2 separate regions of the Homo sapiens genome follow, and region 2 is linked to region 1. The links are contacts of gene promoters, found by promoter capture Hi-C in human tissues and cell types (Jung and others, 2019). All regions are on one chromosome and are shown on one strand. Each heading gives the region's core, a stretch centred on a gene start or on the middle of the fragment in contact. The rest is flanking DNA. Distances are from core to core; before and after follow the strand shown.

What was found. Contacts are between HindIII fragments. The study calls those that stand out against the background at their distance.
Region 2: a contact is called between a fragment that was not itself captured here and the fragment with the promoter of ALS2CL in region 1, in 2 of the 25 tissues and cell types used here (mesenchymal stem cells and mesendoderm cells).

What each region holds. Positions count from the first base shown.
Region 1 is chr3:46,690,738-46,698,064 of GRCh38, reverse strand. ALS2CL (ALS2 C-terminal like) reads left to right here and starts at 4,386. Exons shown (of 26, transcript NM_147129.5): 1 at 4,386-4,422. It also overlaps a transcript of TMIE not described here. RefSeq lists enhancers at 1,071-1,570, 2,660-3,449, 5,031-5,822 and silencers at 4,082-4,161, 4,312-4,561, 4,292-4,586. The HindIII fragment of the contact is 18,920 bases long and covers 1-7,327 here.
Region 2 is chr3:46,801,087-46,808,413 of GRCh38, reverse strand. No RefSeq gene overlaps it. Among named protein-coding and RNA genes, the nearest start is that of MYL3, 59 kb to the left of the region's middle. The HindIII fragment of the contact is 4,074 bases long and covers 1,095-5,168 here.

The DNA.
Region 1 (7,327 bases), core at 3,137-5,636:
AAACAAAACAAAACAAAACAAAAGAAACAAAAAACCTTGTTGGATCTCTGTCCTATTGTTGGACATTTCCATTGCTTCCAATTCTCCAGTATTAAACACCACGTTAAGGCGAACATCCTGAAAGTTAAAGTAGTTTTGAAAACTCTCTCAAACTATATCTTTTCCTCTGCTCGTACACCAACACAACAACAATCATCCACACAGAAGTCTTCTGTGATCAAATGTGTGGGTTTTTTCCCTAAATGCCAAGCAGCAGACACCAACTGAGTGCCTTCCAATTCGATTCTGACATGATCTACCCGGAGATAGTGTCAGATCCCACAGATTGAGGCCTCAGTTCCCAAGACTGCCCACCCAGCCCCAAGACACCAGTTGCCAGTCTGGCCTCTGGAACTTCTGACCAACTGGCTTCACGCTGGGGTTCCTACAACCTCCTCTTTGGGCTTAATTTGCTGGAGTGGGTCACAGAACTCAGGGAAGCACTGACTGACTTTTACTGGCTTACTGTAAAGGGTATTACGAAGGATACAGCTGAAGAGATGCATAGGGCGAGATATGGAGGAAGGGGTATGGAGCTTCCATGCCCTCCTGGGCATGCCACCCAGCCTCCACACGTTCAGCTATTCAGAAGCCCTCTGAACCCTGTCCTCTTGGGGTTTATGGAGGCTTCACGACATCTGCATTCCTTCCTCCCAGAGTATAGGGCAGGACCCTCTCTGGGGAGGGTCTTAAGACTCGCAATCAGAAAGGTGTGGGAAAATTAGGGTCCTGACTTGGGGCAGGTGAAAGCAGAGCAGGAGAAGGTCAGAGAGATTCCGTTTCCTGGGGCCTGCCCTGAGGCCCAACACATTATAGCCAAAGACCGTAACAAGGGCAATGGGAGCTATGAGCCAGTAGCCGAGGATGAAAATCAATACCTAACACCACATGGGTTTTTTTTTCCCCCATCTTTGAGGGACTTTACATCTCTGAGGGCTTTTCAGTGAGGAATTTAAGCTCATAGAGGGGTTATGCCCTGCCTAAGGTCACACAGGAACTATGGCCTCCACCTCAGCCTTTGCCTCCAACCCAGGACACTGCTCAGTGTCCAGTACTGTTTCTGCTTCTTAGGAGGCCTCCACATCCCCCTGCACCCCAAAATCAGTTGGGCCCATCATATCTGGGGTTGGGGACCTCTGGACTCCAAGTCCCCCACCCTTGCTCCCTGGAAGACAGTGTCCCCTCCATACATGGTGCTGTGAATGCTGGTCTGCAGATCCCTGCTTCTCCCTCCTGTACTAATTTTAGCTCCTGTGAGTTTCCTGTAGGGACCCAGTCCAGCCTCCAGGGCCTCTGAACTGGAAGCTGTGAGCAAGGCAGGGGGTAGTGGCCAGAGGACCCTGTGGAATGTTCTCTCCTGGAGCCTGAAATCCCAGGGCTTAAAGTTTAGCTCTGGGGGAGCTGGGGGTAGGAAATGAGGACCCCCAGTCACAAAGCTAGGCTAGGATCCAGGGACTCAGCCTAGGGTGGGGGTGGGAGCTGGGCAGCCTAGGCCTGTGCCACAGCAGCTGGGGCCTGCTGGGAGTTGGCTGTCCCTGACCTCATCAGCCCCAGGCTCAGCTCAGAATAGCTGTGGGGCTGGGCCAGGCCTGTGTCAGACCTGCGTGTGCTTGAGCATGTGCTTTGTGTACTAAGGCACTGGTGCACATGGGAGTGCATGTGCATTCTGCATGCAGCTTTGTGTGTGGCTGGGTATGAGTCTCAATGGCTCCAGAATCACAGGTGCCATTCACATACGTGTGTGTTCCCTGGAGTAGTGTGCAGGTCTGTGTCCCTGTGGATGGGCACATGATCTGCACACGCATACCCAGGGCTGCCACTAGAGTTGTGCAACTTGGAGTCCTTACCAGTGGGTTCAATGGTAGATGGGTCCATGTGGCACAGGGACCCACCCATTCCCTGACTGTGGAATTGTATCTGTGTGCAGCGGGTGTGGGAGTGGTGTGGGTGGGTATACACATCTGTGGTGGGATTGGCTAGGGGCCCTTGGCTGTGCTGCAGGGGACTGAAGGCAGGTGGACTCAGCAGAGGCTGTCCTTTGGGCACTACCAGAGGCCTTACCTGGCCCCAAGCCAAGAATGAGCTGTAAGAGAGGCTGGGCAGGTCTTGCCCCATTTAGCAGATAGGAAAACTGGGCTTGCAATGCCCATGAGGTCACCCAGGGAATGGGGGAAGGACTGGTCTGCTGCCCAGAGCTCAGTCAGCCTTTCTATTCCCCTAGATGTGGCTGAACAGGAAGTCTGTGCTCTAGGGAGGAAGCCGTGGGAGCCCTTCCCTTCCTGCTCGAGCCCAGGCAGCACTGCCTTCCCTCAGCTGCACGTGCAGATGATGAAAGTGAGGCCCAGAGACACCTAGCATAAGATCAGATCTGTCCTGCTCGGGGCCTTGCCCCACCTGTCCCTGTTCGTCACAAGTGGTGAGGCCATATGCTCCTCCTGAGGCCATGGCCACTCTCCAGCCCTTGCCTCCCTCCTAAGCCCCAGGGATGCCTGGTGGCCCACACCCATGCTCTAGGGGACCCATAGATCCTCTAAACCGTGCTCATCCCTGAAGGAGCCCCTTGAACCCACCATACCCCTCCTCTCAGAGTCCCACATAACCCCGAGAAGGAGGCGCAGGTAAGATATTTCACCAGCAGGGGCACTACGTTACAGAGAGGCCACACACTGCCTGTGATCACACAGCAAGAGGAAAGCAGCACAAGGCCCCATACCAGCTCTTCCAGAATGTACCGCTACCTCCCACTGCCCCACAGGCACAAAGGATCCCCACAGGGAAGACCTTGGAGGCCTGTTTAGAACCTGAAGCCTCAGTTCATTCCACCTGCTGGGGCGGTGGCTCTGCCAGGCTGTGCTGTAGACTCAGGGAGCCAAGTGCCCCAGCAGACAGTCCCGCAGGCCAACAGGGCTGTGAAGGGGAGTGGGGGCCAAGGTCCGGAGCCTGGGGGTGGAGGGCATGGGGAGGGGAGGCTTTCCCAGAGGGCCAGAGGGACACCTCACCAGAAGCCTCCTTGAGGTAGCCCCCACCCACCAACACAGCAACACCTCTAGCAGGCAGGGACCAGAGGAGCAAGGCCTTTGGGAGTGGAGCCCCTCAGGCAGCAGGGGGTGCAGAAGGGGGCAAGAAAACAAGGCTGGAAAAGGGGAGGCCAGAGCTAGGGCGGGCTTTGGCAATGTGGGGAGGGATGGAGAAGCAGGAAGGGGCGGCTCTGCAGGATTGGGACCCAGGAGGAGAGCAATGTGGGGCAAAAGGGTGAGGTCACTGGGACCTGCAGTCACTCAGACAAGGGTCCCAGGCTGGAAACCCTCCAAGGGGTGATGTGCAGCTTGGCAGACAGTAAACTCCCACCTCGCAACAACCCAAGGGAGCCAGGGGATGAGCTTGGCAGGCCCCAGGCCCCTACTTACCTCCACTGGGGGTCTCTTCAGCCTGGCAGGTTGGGGGATGCCTCCCACCTCCTCAGTAGGGGGCTGAGTAGGGGGCTGGTGGGCCACCCTTTCTGCTCTTCCACGGCCGCCTTGGACCCTGAGCCTCCCCCTCACTGGAACCTGAGTGCCACTGAGAGCAATGGGTGACTAACCTGGTGGCCAGAGGGGGAATCAGGCTGCTGACGGGGGGCTTCTTTGTTACAGGTTTGAACTAAGTTCCCTCCCGCTCCCGGGGGGTCTGTCCCAGATAAGTCTTCAGCCACCCTTTCCAAGGTCTCAGGCCTTCGCACAAAGCACACGCGGCCGGCTTCATGCTCTACTAGGCCTGTTGAGACTCAGGAGTGGGGAGGAAAGGGGACTTCCCCAAGGTCGCACAGGAGGGGCGGCCGGCCGTGGACACCCAGCCCAGGGGGCCGCAGGGCGCCTCAGTATACCCCTCTACAGGCTCCAAGTTCCACGAACCCACACAGCGCTCCGCGTGTGCTGGCTTCTGTGACTCAGGGCAGACCCGGGAGGTCACGGGGCTGCACCACAGGCTCGCAGAGCGACTGACTGGCGGGGCGAGGTGGTGGCACGGCGGCCTCGGAGCCTTGCAGGGGAAGCGGGGCGCGAGAGGCGAGCCTGAGTGTGCGCGTGGGTGCGTAGGGGGCGGAGGGGTCAAGACTCCCACTTTTCCTCCCCGCGCCGGGTCCCAGGGGCCTCCGGATCCCGGGGGACGCCAGAGGGAGGCCTCAGGAGAGGCTTGGGGCGGCGGGACGGATCAATACCGCGCGCCAGCTCCTCGGTGGCCCGCCCGTGGCCCCCGCAACTCCAGAGCAACACCCGGAGGCGGGGCGGGGCGGGGCTGGGCGAAGGGGGCGGGGCTGGCAGGGGGCGGGACTGGCAGGGGGCAGGGTGGGGGTGCGAGCGAGGAGCCGCACAGGCAGTCCCGGCGCGGGGCAACCACAGCGCTCAGGTAAGGGCGCGACGAAGGGCGCGCGTCTGCGGACGGGTGTCTGCGCTCCACGCTTAGCTCGTCCAGGTGGGGGCTCCCGCCTCCTCGGCTGCTGCGGTCCCCGCCCAGCTCCTTGGTCCCGGCGGCAGTCATCCCCCGGCCGTCCGAGTCCCTCGTAAGATACCCCGCTCACAGCGTCGTCCTCCCTGCCTGGCTGCTAGCCTGCTTGGGTTCGGGGCAGCGCCCCGGGCCTGACCTGAGCCGTGGTGGCAGGGCCACGGGGCCCCAGCCAGCAGGAGAGACTGCCAGGAGGAGGTGACGCCGGCTGGTTAGGGCGGAAGGGCCCGACCCGGGATTCCAGGAGGTGGCCTTTTCGCATGGGAGCGGCATGGCAAATGCCTGGCGGCCGGAACAGGAGCTCGGGTCTGGGAAACTCCAGCGACTGAGTGTGTGCCTGGGCAGGGAGAGGAAGGGAAGCTGGGACATATGCGACAGCAGGGAGGGGTGCTTGTCTAGGACAAGAGGCTTGTAGCCATGGTGGGGCCGAGGAAGGGTGCAGCGGGGAGAGGCGAGCATGAGACTGAGGGATCAGGTGTGACAGTTCAGCGCCCCCTCCCTGGGGCAGTGCGTGTCTCTACTCTCCCCCACTGGGCACCAGACAACGAAGGGGCTGCCACGGCAGCCCATGAAAAAGCCTCCACAGCAGGCAGAACTTCCCTGCCTGTTCAGACCAGGAAATACCAGAGTGAGTGAGTGTCACGACAAGGTGTGTCAGGGGCCTAAGGAGCCAGGCCTGGGAGAGGACAGGGAAGGCCCCAGTGACCCTGCCCGGGAGGGACCTAGCGTGGACAGAGGCCAGGAATGCAGAGGAGAGACCAGGTCTGGCTACTGGTTAGAGCGCCACAGGGGCAGCCGCTGACTCACCTGGGCACGCCGTGACTGGCCAGTTCTGTCCTCACCCTGCCCCACCCCACCGCACCCCGTGGTGAGCATCAGGGCTGCCTGAGGACAGCTGTGAGGCAGGGCCCGTCAGGATCTTGCTCTGTGCCTCAGGTGAGTTGCCCACCCTCTCTGAGCCATCTAGCTAGGTGAACCTGGTGGGCTGGAGCCAGAAGTCTGGGTCTGAGCCCTGCACAAGTTCTACACAAGGGTCTCTGGACCCTCCCATTGTTCCTGGGCCTCAGTTTCCCCATCTGTACATTAGGCACAGCCTGTCACTAAGGAACCTTTGAACTGGAGGGAGGGAGAGGGTGAGGAAGCTATGCCCTTGACTGGAAGGGGGAAGGTTAGGGATGGGACAGGGGTTGGGGAGGGGGGTACTCCTGCAGGATCCTCCTCATATTAAGGTTCAGCACCTCCTCCTCCTGCCCTGCAAACGTGCACACTCATGCACATTCACGCTGCCTCACCCCTGCACTTACACTCTCCTCATCACTTCCAGGATGAAGCCCCAGACTCCCTAGCCTGGGAGCTGGGTCCCTCAGGGTCACCTAACCAGAATCCCAGCTTCCACTGCGGCCTTCCCCCAACCCACTGCCTCACCAGCCATGCTTAACTTCTGCCCGTTCCTCTGGGTGGTGTGACTCAGTTTCCCAGGGTTATAGATCCCTTTGGGGCCACAGATGTGGAAGACTCCCAGATTAACAGTTGCCAACTTGAGTCTGGAGGACTCACCCCCGGAGTCATAGGCTGCTTTGTGGGGTGGGGAGTCTAAGGACCAGATCCCCACACCCAGAGAAGCCCCCTTCCACCTGTTTGTCCTTTTGAGGGGAGACTTAAGTAGTTTGAAAAGCTGTGATCCTCTTTGGCTGGGCGCAGTGGCTCACGCCTGTAATCCCAGCACTTTGGGAGGCCAAGATGGGTTGATCACTTGAGGCTAGGAGTTTGAGACCAGCCTCGTCAACATAGTGAGATCCCATCTCTAAAAAAAAAAAAAAAAAAGAATAGAAAGAAATACAAACAAATAAAAAGAAAAAAATGCTGTGATCTGGTTGAACCCCCATTTCGTAGAGGGGTGGCTGAGGTACAGAGAGGAGTAAGGCTGTGGATAAGTTGAAGCATGTCCAGGGCTGAGCAGCCAGGTGAGGGCTGCTCCTGGGGGAGCAGCTGAGACTGGGCAGTGGGGACGAGGGACAGGAAGCCTGAGGAGGAGAGGCTATCTCTAGGGTCAGAGAGCTCCTTGCCAGGGTATGGTGTCGGCTGGGGTCATGGTGCTGGCCCCCCGGAGAGTGTAGGGATGTTGGTGTTCAAGTCTTCCTAGCAGCGAGTTATTTACTGCAGTATCTTTTCAACGTGCACTGATCTGGTTCCTAGTCTGCATCTCCTATCCTAGCCTCACCCTTTCTTCTACCTTCCCAACCAGGCTTGGATATCCTCACCTCTTAGCTTAGACCCCAGCTGACTGCCAGCTGAGAGTGAAAAGGTCACCCCCAAAGCGCCTTTCCATTCCAGCAGTTTCGGGAGATACGGGTGAGAGTTAGGTGGGCCTGGCTGCACCCCTATTCCCTTGGCTGGGCTTTCCTTGTCTGCCTGAGCTGACCTGGAGCCCCCTGTGTCCTGGGGGCCTGGGTCTGCCTCAGGGGCCCACAGAGGGAGAAGAAGCTGCAGCACAGAAGCTGCAGCTGGGTGTCTGGTGGCTTCCCCTTCCTGCCTCTCTCTCTGCAGCCTCACCCTCTCGAAGCAGCAGTAGCAGGAAAGGTGGGGCAGGAATGCCTGGCCTGGGCCTTTGGCCAGAGCTCTGAGGGACCCGCCCCACTCCATTCCAGAGCCAATTCCCTGGGAGTTGTAGGCTCTGCCAGGGGCCTGGGATGCCCGCATGGCACTCTCGGGGCAGGGTGGAGAGGGGAGGGCTGAGACCCCTTCCCACTCACCCTTTTGGGTCTGCCTGTGTCACCTGCCCATCGTTGGCTGCCCTGATTTTGTCCCC
Region 2 (7,327 bases), core at 1,882-4,381, 110 kb before region 1:
GGGAGTGTGGTACTTGAGTTTAACAAACCCTGCATCAGGAGTGGGGCATCAAGAGGGACAGAGACTGGGGTGTAGCACACTCAGACACCTTCCTGCTTCTCCTTGCTGCTCTATAACAAGTGTGCCTTGAGGAGACAAAATGGACTATGGGCTGGTCCTTGAGCCCAGAGAGCTGAGTACCCACAGGGAGGAGGGTGGGAAGGAAGAGCTCATTCTCTCTTTGTATGTGTATGTGTGTGTGTGTTTGTGTGTGCATGCAGGAGAGAGAGAAAGAGGGGAGGGGGAGAGAGAGAGAGAGAAAAAAAAAACCTGCTGCCTGAGGGAGCTGGGGCTCAGTGAGCGAAAACACTCTGCTTTTCAAACTCTACATGGTTACAGCTAAACCCAGCAAGTCCTAGGTCATGACCTACAGAAATGCCCATGAAGAAAAGTTGGATGCCCAAGACTTGCCACATATTTCTGTTACTTGCAGCTTTCTTTCAGAACAGACTGACTGACCCTTTTCCATGTTCCATCTGCGGGGAATGCCAGTATGGCTTCTCATTTCCTTCTTTCTTCTTCCTCATCAGTTCAGCCCCAGTAAAAGCATTCCCCCTTTCCACAGACCACTCCTGTGGACTCTGCTGGGCTGTGTAATGTAATGTGCCTTCTTCTGGGCTCCCTGGACTCTGCAGTCTCTGTGCCTGTTAATTTCTCTGTTTCCACTGGTTGACATTTTGTTCCTCATGGCCATGGGACTCTGTCTAATCTTTCCTTATCTTCCATCCTCCACCTCCAGGTGTGGAACAGAGCAGGAGTTTAGGAACTATTTGGTGAGTGAGTGAGTGATAATAGATAATTAGATGCTCATATATAGATAATTAGGTGCTCATATATCCTCTATTGCCTTACTTTTTTCTCTCTCTGCCCTTTCACCTCATTGCTTTGTCCTCCTTTTGCTTTCCAGGTTGCCTTCGTGAAGGGGGGAAAAAACACAACTGGGTAGGCAAGGGTTACAGCCCCTGCAGTGGGGAAAGTCCCAGGCTCCAGGAAGTTTATGGTTCTGGATGGGGTGCCCTTTGGTCTGCCAATATTAGAGCATGTTTCTTGTTATAGGAGAATAGAAATTCCATTCAAGCATCTTGGCTACTGAGGAATAGCCTCTGGCTACCAGAAAAGATGGGCATGGCCCCCCAGGGAACAAAACATCAAGTGCCAAGTAAACGTTAGTCGATTTTACTCTTTCCAACAAAAATTTTGAATTATCTTTTATGAATGAGGCACTGGCCTTCATCCACAGATAAGATGTAGATGGCAGTTGGGGGATAGAGGTGGTCATTAGGAGGACTCCTAGGTAAGGAGCTTGGTGGCTAGGTAGAACCTGAAAGAGATAGATGACACAGGGAGAGGAGTTGTTGACTGGCAGGCAATCAGTTTTACTAAAAATGCCAGACTTGAACAAAAAGGAAATAAAAACAAACAACAAAATTCCCTATGGGTTTCTAGTCATAAGGGGCAAGTGACATAGGGCGCAATAAGCATTTTTAGTGGTCTTGAAATACCATTTGCCGGCTAGGCACGGTGGCTCATGCCTGTAATCCCAGCACTTTGGGAAGCTGAGGTGGGTGGATCACCTGAGGTCAGGAGTTTGAGACCAACCTGGCCAACATGGTGAAACCCCGTCTCTACTAAAAATACAAAAAAATTAGCCAGGCGTGGTGGAAGGTGCCTGTAATTCCAGCTACTTGGGAGGCTGAGGCATGAGAATCGCTTGAACCTGGGAGGCAGAGGTTGTAGTGAGCCGAGACCGCTCCATTGCACTCCAGCCTGGGCCACAAGAACAAAATTCCATCCCCCCCCAAACAACAACAACAACAACAACAACAACAACAACAACAACAACAACAAGAAATACTGTTTGCCACCAAAAGAAACCAGGGCTTCTTGGAGAAATGGCTTGAAAAATTTACAGGTATGAAACAGGAAATATATAAAATAAGCCTGAAATTTCTTGTCATACCAGATAGCAAGGAAGCTATCATGTCAACAGGACTCAGAACCAATCAGAAGAGGCACCCTGTGTTCTGACATGTGGTGTTCCTGCTAGATCCCATTGCAGAGAAATCACAGCCATCCCTCAGCTTCTGAAGATACTGATTCACAGCTGCACCCCTCACAAAATGGGCACTCAGCCTCAGGGAACTGATTCCCTCAAGATTAAGTCTCTTCACAGGGGTATCCCATAGCAAATAATTGCTATGCAGAGATATAAAGGCCCAGTCTTCTTCCCTCAATTTGGGACAACTTGGAAAGGCCTCTTGTAGGATCAGCTGAGATGTCAGTTGCAACTGCCTTCTGTGAGCAGCTTCTCCTATGAGCACTCCTCAACAAACCGTTGGACAGAATTCTCTCTCAGAGCCTATGTTCAGGGAACCCAATCTAAGTTACCCTGCCTGGCAAAAGATGTCTTTGTGTGTTTCAGGATTCTATTGCTGTGTAACAATCACCCCAAACTCAGTGGCCTAAAACAACACATTGTATTATGGTCAATTCTCATTGTTCAAGCATTCGTACTTGCAAATTCACCTACTTGCTGAAATTTATTTTAACCCCCAAATCAGTACTCAGAGTGATTTTTGGACATGCCCAGGGCATGGAAAAATTTGAGTTTTCTGATGCCTAAGTTCCTAGCTGAGGCTGTACAATGTGCTATTTTGTCTGCTTTCATCTCTCTTACTGTAAACAAGTATCTTTTTTGTCATCTCTTAACTGTCACTTTTAAAAAAACATTTTTGTGCTTGTTGTTGGTGATTTTGCTGTTTAAAAGGGCCCTGGGGCCAGGTGCGGTGGCTCACGCCTGTAATCCCAGCACTTTGAGAAGCCAAGGCGGGCAGATCATAAGGTCAGGAGTTCGAGACCAGCCTGGCCAACATGGTGAAACCCGGTCTCTACTAAAAATACAAAAATTAGCTGGGCATGGTGGCGCATGCCTGTAATCCTAGCTACTCAGGAGGCTGAGGCAGGAGAATTGCTTGAACCTGGGAGGCAGAGGTTACAGTGAGCTGTGATCATGCCACTACACTCCAGCCTGGGTGACGGAGCAAGACTCCATCTCAAAATAAATAAATAAAAGGACCCCAAGAGTACTGCTGAAATGCTGGTTAGTGCTCCTAAGTGCAATAAGGCTGTGATGTGCCTTATGGAGGAAAAATAGGCGTGTTAGATAAGCTTTCCTTAGGCATGCATAGTTCTGTTGCCTGGGAGTTCAACCAGTCGAGTGTGCTAAAGGAGATGTCTTTAAAGGAACATACATAAAACAAGGTTATATGTTGACTGGTTGATGAGTCTATTTTGACTAGAGGCTCACAGGAATCTAACCCTACATTTCCTCTAGGAGCAATGATTCAGTATTCACGCATTCAGTCCTCATGATGACTTTATAAAACATAACTTCTGTGAATAATGAGATTCAATTGTATTCCTCATAATTTTGTAGAATAGTTGGCAGTTCTGCTGGTCTAGTCTGAGCTAATTCCTGTAGTTACACTTCAAGCATGGTGGGGATGTCCCAAGATGCTCTTGCTCAAATGGTGAGTGGTTATATGGGAATATAGGTAGGGGTGCCCTAACTTTTCCTCCAAAGGCCTTTCATCCTCCTGTAGATTAGATCAGGTGGACTCAGGACAGTGCTCCAAGTGGGTGAAAGCAGAAATTGCCAGGCCTCTTTATGCCTAGATTCAGAAGTTGTAAAACTTAATTTCTACCACATTCTGTTGGTCAGAGCATGTCACAAGGCCAGTTCAGTTTAAATGAGGATGGAGAACTAAATTTCATTTCTTGATGGGAGAATATGCAAAATATTGTGTCCATATTTTCTAATCTACCACAGTAAGCATAACAATTACAATGCATAAAAACTCATAAAATATGTTAAAATCCAAAATCTTCATAAAACTTTTCCACCTCAAAAAGAGAAATGATACCATTAGATTACTATTTTTCAACCTTCAGTGAATTAGTAGATCCAGGCAAAAATAATCAACAGCTGATAACATCAGAAAATGAGCCCATCCAGACATTGTGTGTCTCCAAGTGAAAGAATGCAACACCTACTATGTTGACAAAGGGATTGAACCTGAGACTAGCTGCTGATTTACAGGAAATACAGAAAACAGAACATGTTGAACCACACCATGAAGGCAATTAACAAAGTCCAGATTGTGGGAGACTCTACACGTCAGGCAGCCCAGATTCTTCAACAGATGAACTGTAAGGCAATATAGGGGAAAATTATAAGTGAAGAGTGTCTCTAAAGACATATCAAATATGAAACAGTCATAGCAAGACAAAAGTGTAGTGTTCAGGAAAACACATTTGGGTGATAAAATTATAAGAAACACAAGGAAAGAATTACTTAAAAGTCAGATTAATAGGTTATATTTGAGAGACAGAAGGCAATTGTGTTATGGAAGGCACATGGAAGGGCTTCAAGCATGACTGGCATAGCTCTATTTCTTGACCAAAATTGCAGTTACAAGTATGGCCCCCTTAAAATAATTACTTAAATGAAATGGTTTTTGTGTATCATTTTTTTTTAAACAAGTAAAAGGTAAAAGGAAAATGGTGGAACTCATCTTTAAAACTGCTATTGTGTGAAGCTTTGTGGGGATGGGTGGGGGGAGCCTTTTATTATTTATTTATTTCATGGTTATTGGTCTTCAGGTTGTCAATCTCTTCTTGTGTTATTATTGATATTTTAATTTTTTTTAGAAATATATTTAATCTAGATTTTCAAATTTTTGGCATACTTTTTTTAAAAAAGAAAACAGCTTTATTGAAGTATGATTGACATACAATAAACTGCATTTATTTAAAATGTACAATTTGATAAGTTGTGATATATGGACACACATCTGCAGCTATTACTGTAATCATGAAAATGAACATTTCCCTCAAAAGTTTCTTTGTTAGCCTTGGTAATCCCTCTTTCCCAGCCCTTCTGGTTGCTCCTCTGTCCTCAACTGGTGATCTGCTTTCAGTCACTATTCATTAGTTTGTAATTCCTAGGATTTTATGTAAAGGGGAAACATAGAGTATTCTTTTTCAGGGGGGTCTGGCCTCTTTCACACAGCACAATTATTTTGAAATTTATCCACAATCACAGTGTGTATCAATATGTTATTTTTATTGACGAGTAGTATTTCATTGTATGGATATACCACAATTTGTTTACCCATTCATCTATTGATGGACATTTGGGTTGTTTCCAGGTTTATACTATTACAAATTAAGCTACTATGATCATTTGTGTACAAGTGTCTGTTTTTAAATTATTTTATACTACTCTAGTTTATTAAATAAATGAAACAAGGTTTATGCCACATGTTTCAACAATGTTTAAATAAAGAGCTTGAAATATAAATGCTTACGAAAACTTCATACTCTTTATATCATGTATACTATTTCTAGCACATGCATAAATATGGAGGACAGGAGTCATTCTTTATATTATGAATCAGCAATAGTAAGCATCAATGATTATGCAAATCCGCAAGCAAGCAAGCAAGCAAACAAACAAACAAAAACTATTAGTTATAAAAACTAGAAATCCTTTTGCCATATTTAAGCAATATCCAAAGGTGGGGAGGGAGTTATAGGCACAGCCCTGAAAACAAGGGGACCAAGTCTCCCAATTACTTAAGTTCTGTCTTGGTTAGAAGCTTCAACAACTGCATTAGCTCTTTCAAGAAACAGAAAAAGCAAATCAAAACCCTGTTCTATAGGCATTTAATAAATCTACACTGAAGAAATACTATACTTTTGTCTTAAATTGTGCTGAAGTTTGAATACCTTTTCCTCTTGGTATGAACATGTTGTGTACAAGTCTTTGCATGTACACTTACTCTCATTTCTCTTAGGTAAATATGTGGGAGTGGAATGGATGGATCATAGAATAAGTGTATATTTACATTTTTAAGTAACTGCCAAACTTTTTTTCCAAGTGGTTGTACAATTTTAGGTTCGCAGCAGTGTACGAGAGTTCCATTTCCTGTACATCCTTGCCACTAGTTGGTATGGTCAGTCTTTCCCGTTTGTAGTCATTTGAATAAGTTTATAATGGTCTCATTGTGGTTCTAGTTAGCATTTTCATTCAACAACCCTTCATGCTAAAAACTCTCAATAAATTAGGTATTGATGGGACATACCTCAAAATAATAAGAGCCATCTATGACAAACCCACAGCCAAAATCATACTGAATGGGCAAAAACTGGAAGCATTCCCTTTGAAAACTGGCACAAGACAGGGATGCCCTCTTTCACCACTCCTATTCAACGTAGTGTTGGAAGTTCTGGCCAGGGCAATTAGGCAGGAGAAGGAAATAAAGGGTATTCAATTAGGAAAAGAGGAAGTCAAATTGTCCCTGTTTGCAGACGACATGATTGTATATCTAGAAAACCCCATCGTCTCAGCCCAAAATCTCCTTAAGCTGATCAGCAACTTCAGCAAAGTCTCAGGATACAAAATCAATGTACAAAAATCACAAGCATTCTTATACACCAATAACAGACAAACAGAGAGCCAAATCATGAGTGAACTCCCATTCACAATTGCTTCAAAGAGAATAAAATACTTAGGAATCCAACTTACAAGGGACATGAAGGACCTCTTCAAGGAGAACTACAAACCACTGCTCAATGAAATAAAAGAGGATACAAACAAATGGAAGAACATTCCATGCTCATGGGTAGGAAGAATCAATATCATGAAAATGGCCATACTGCCCAAGGTAATTTATAGATTCAATGCCATCCCCATCAAGCTACCAATGACTTTCTTCACAGAATTGGAAAAAACTACTTTAAAGTGCATATGGAACCAAAAAAGAGCCCGCATCACCAAGTCAATCCTAAGCCAAAAGAACAAAGCTGGAGGCATCATTCTACCTGACTTCAAACTATACTACAAGGCTACAGTAACCAAAACAGCATGGTACTGGTACCAAAACAGAGATATAGATCAATGGAACAGAACAGAGCCCTCAGAAATAACGCCGCATATCTACAACCATCTGATCTTTGACAAACCTGAGAAAAACAAGCAATGGGGAAAGGATTCCCTATTTAATAAATGGTGCTGGGAAAACTGGCTAGCCATAAGTAGAAAGCTGAAACTGGATCCCTTCCTTACACCTTATACAAAAATCAATTCATGATGGATTAAAGACTTAAACGTTAGACCTAAAACCATAAAAACCCTAGAAGAAAACCTAGGCATTACCATTCAGGACATAGGCATGGGCAAGGACTTCATGTCTAAAACACCAAAAGCAATGGCAACAAAAGCCAA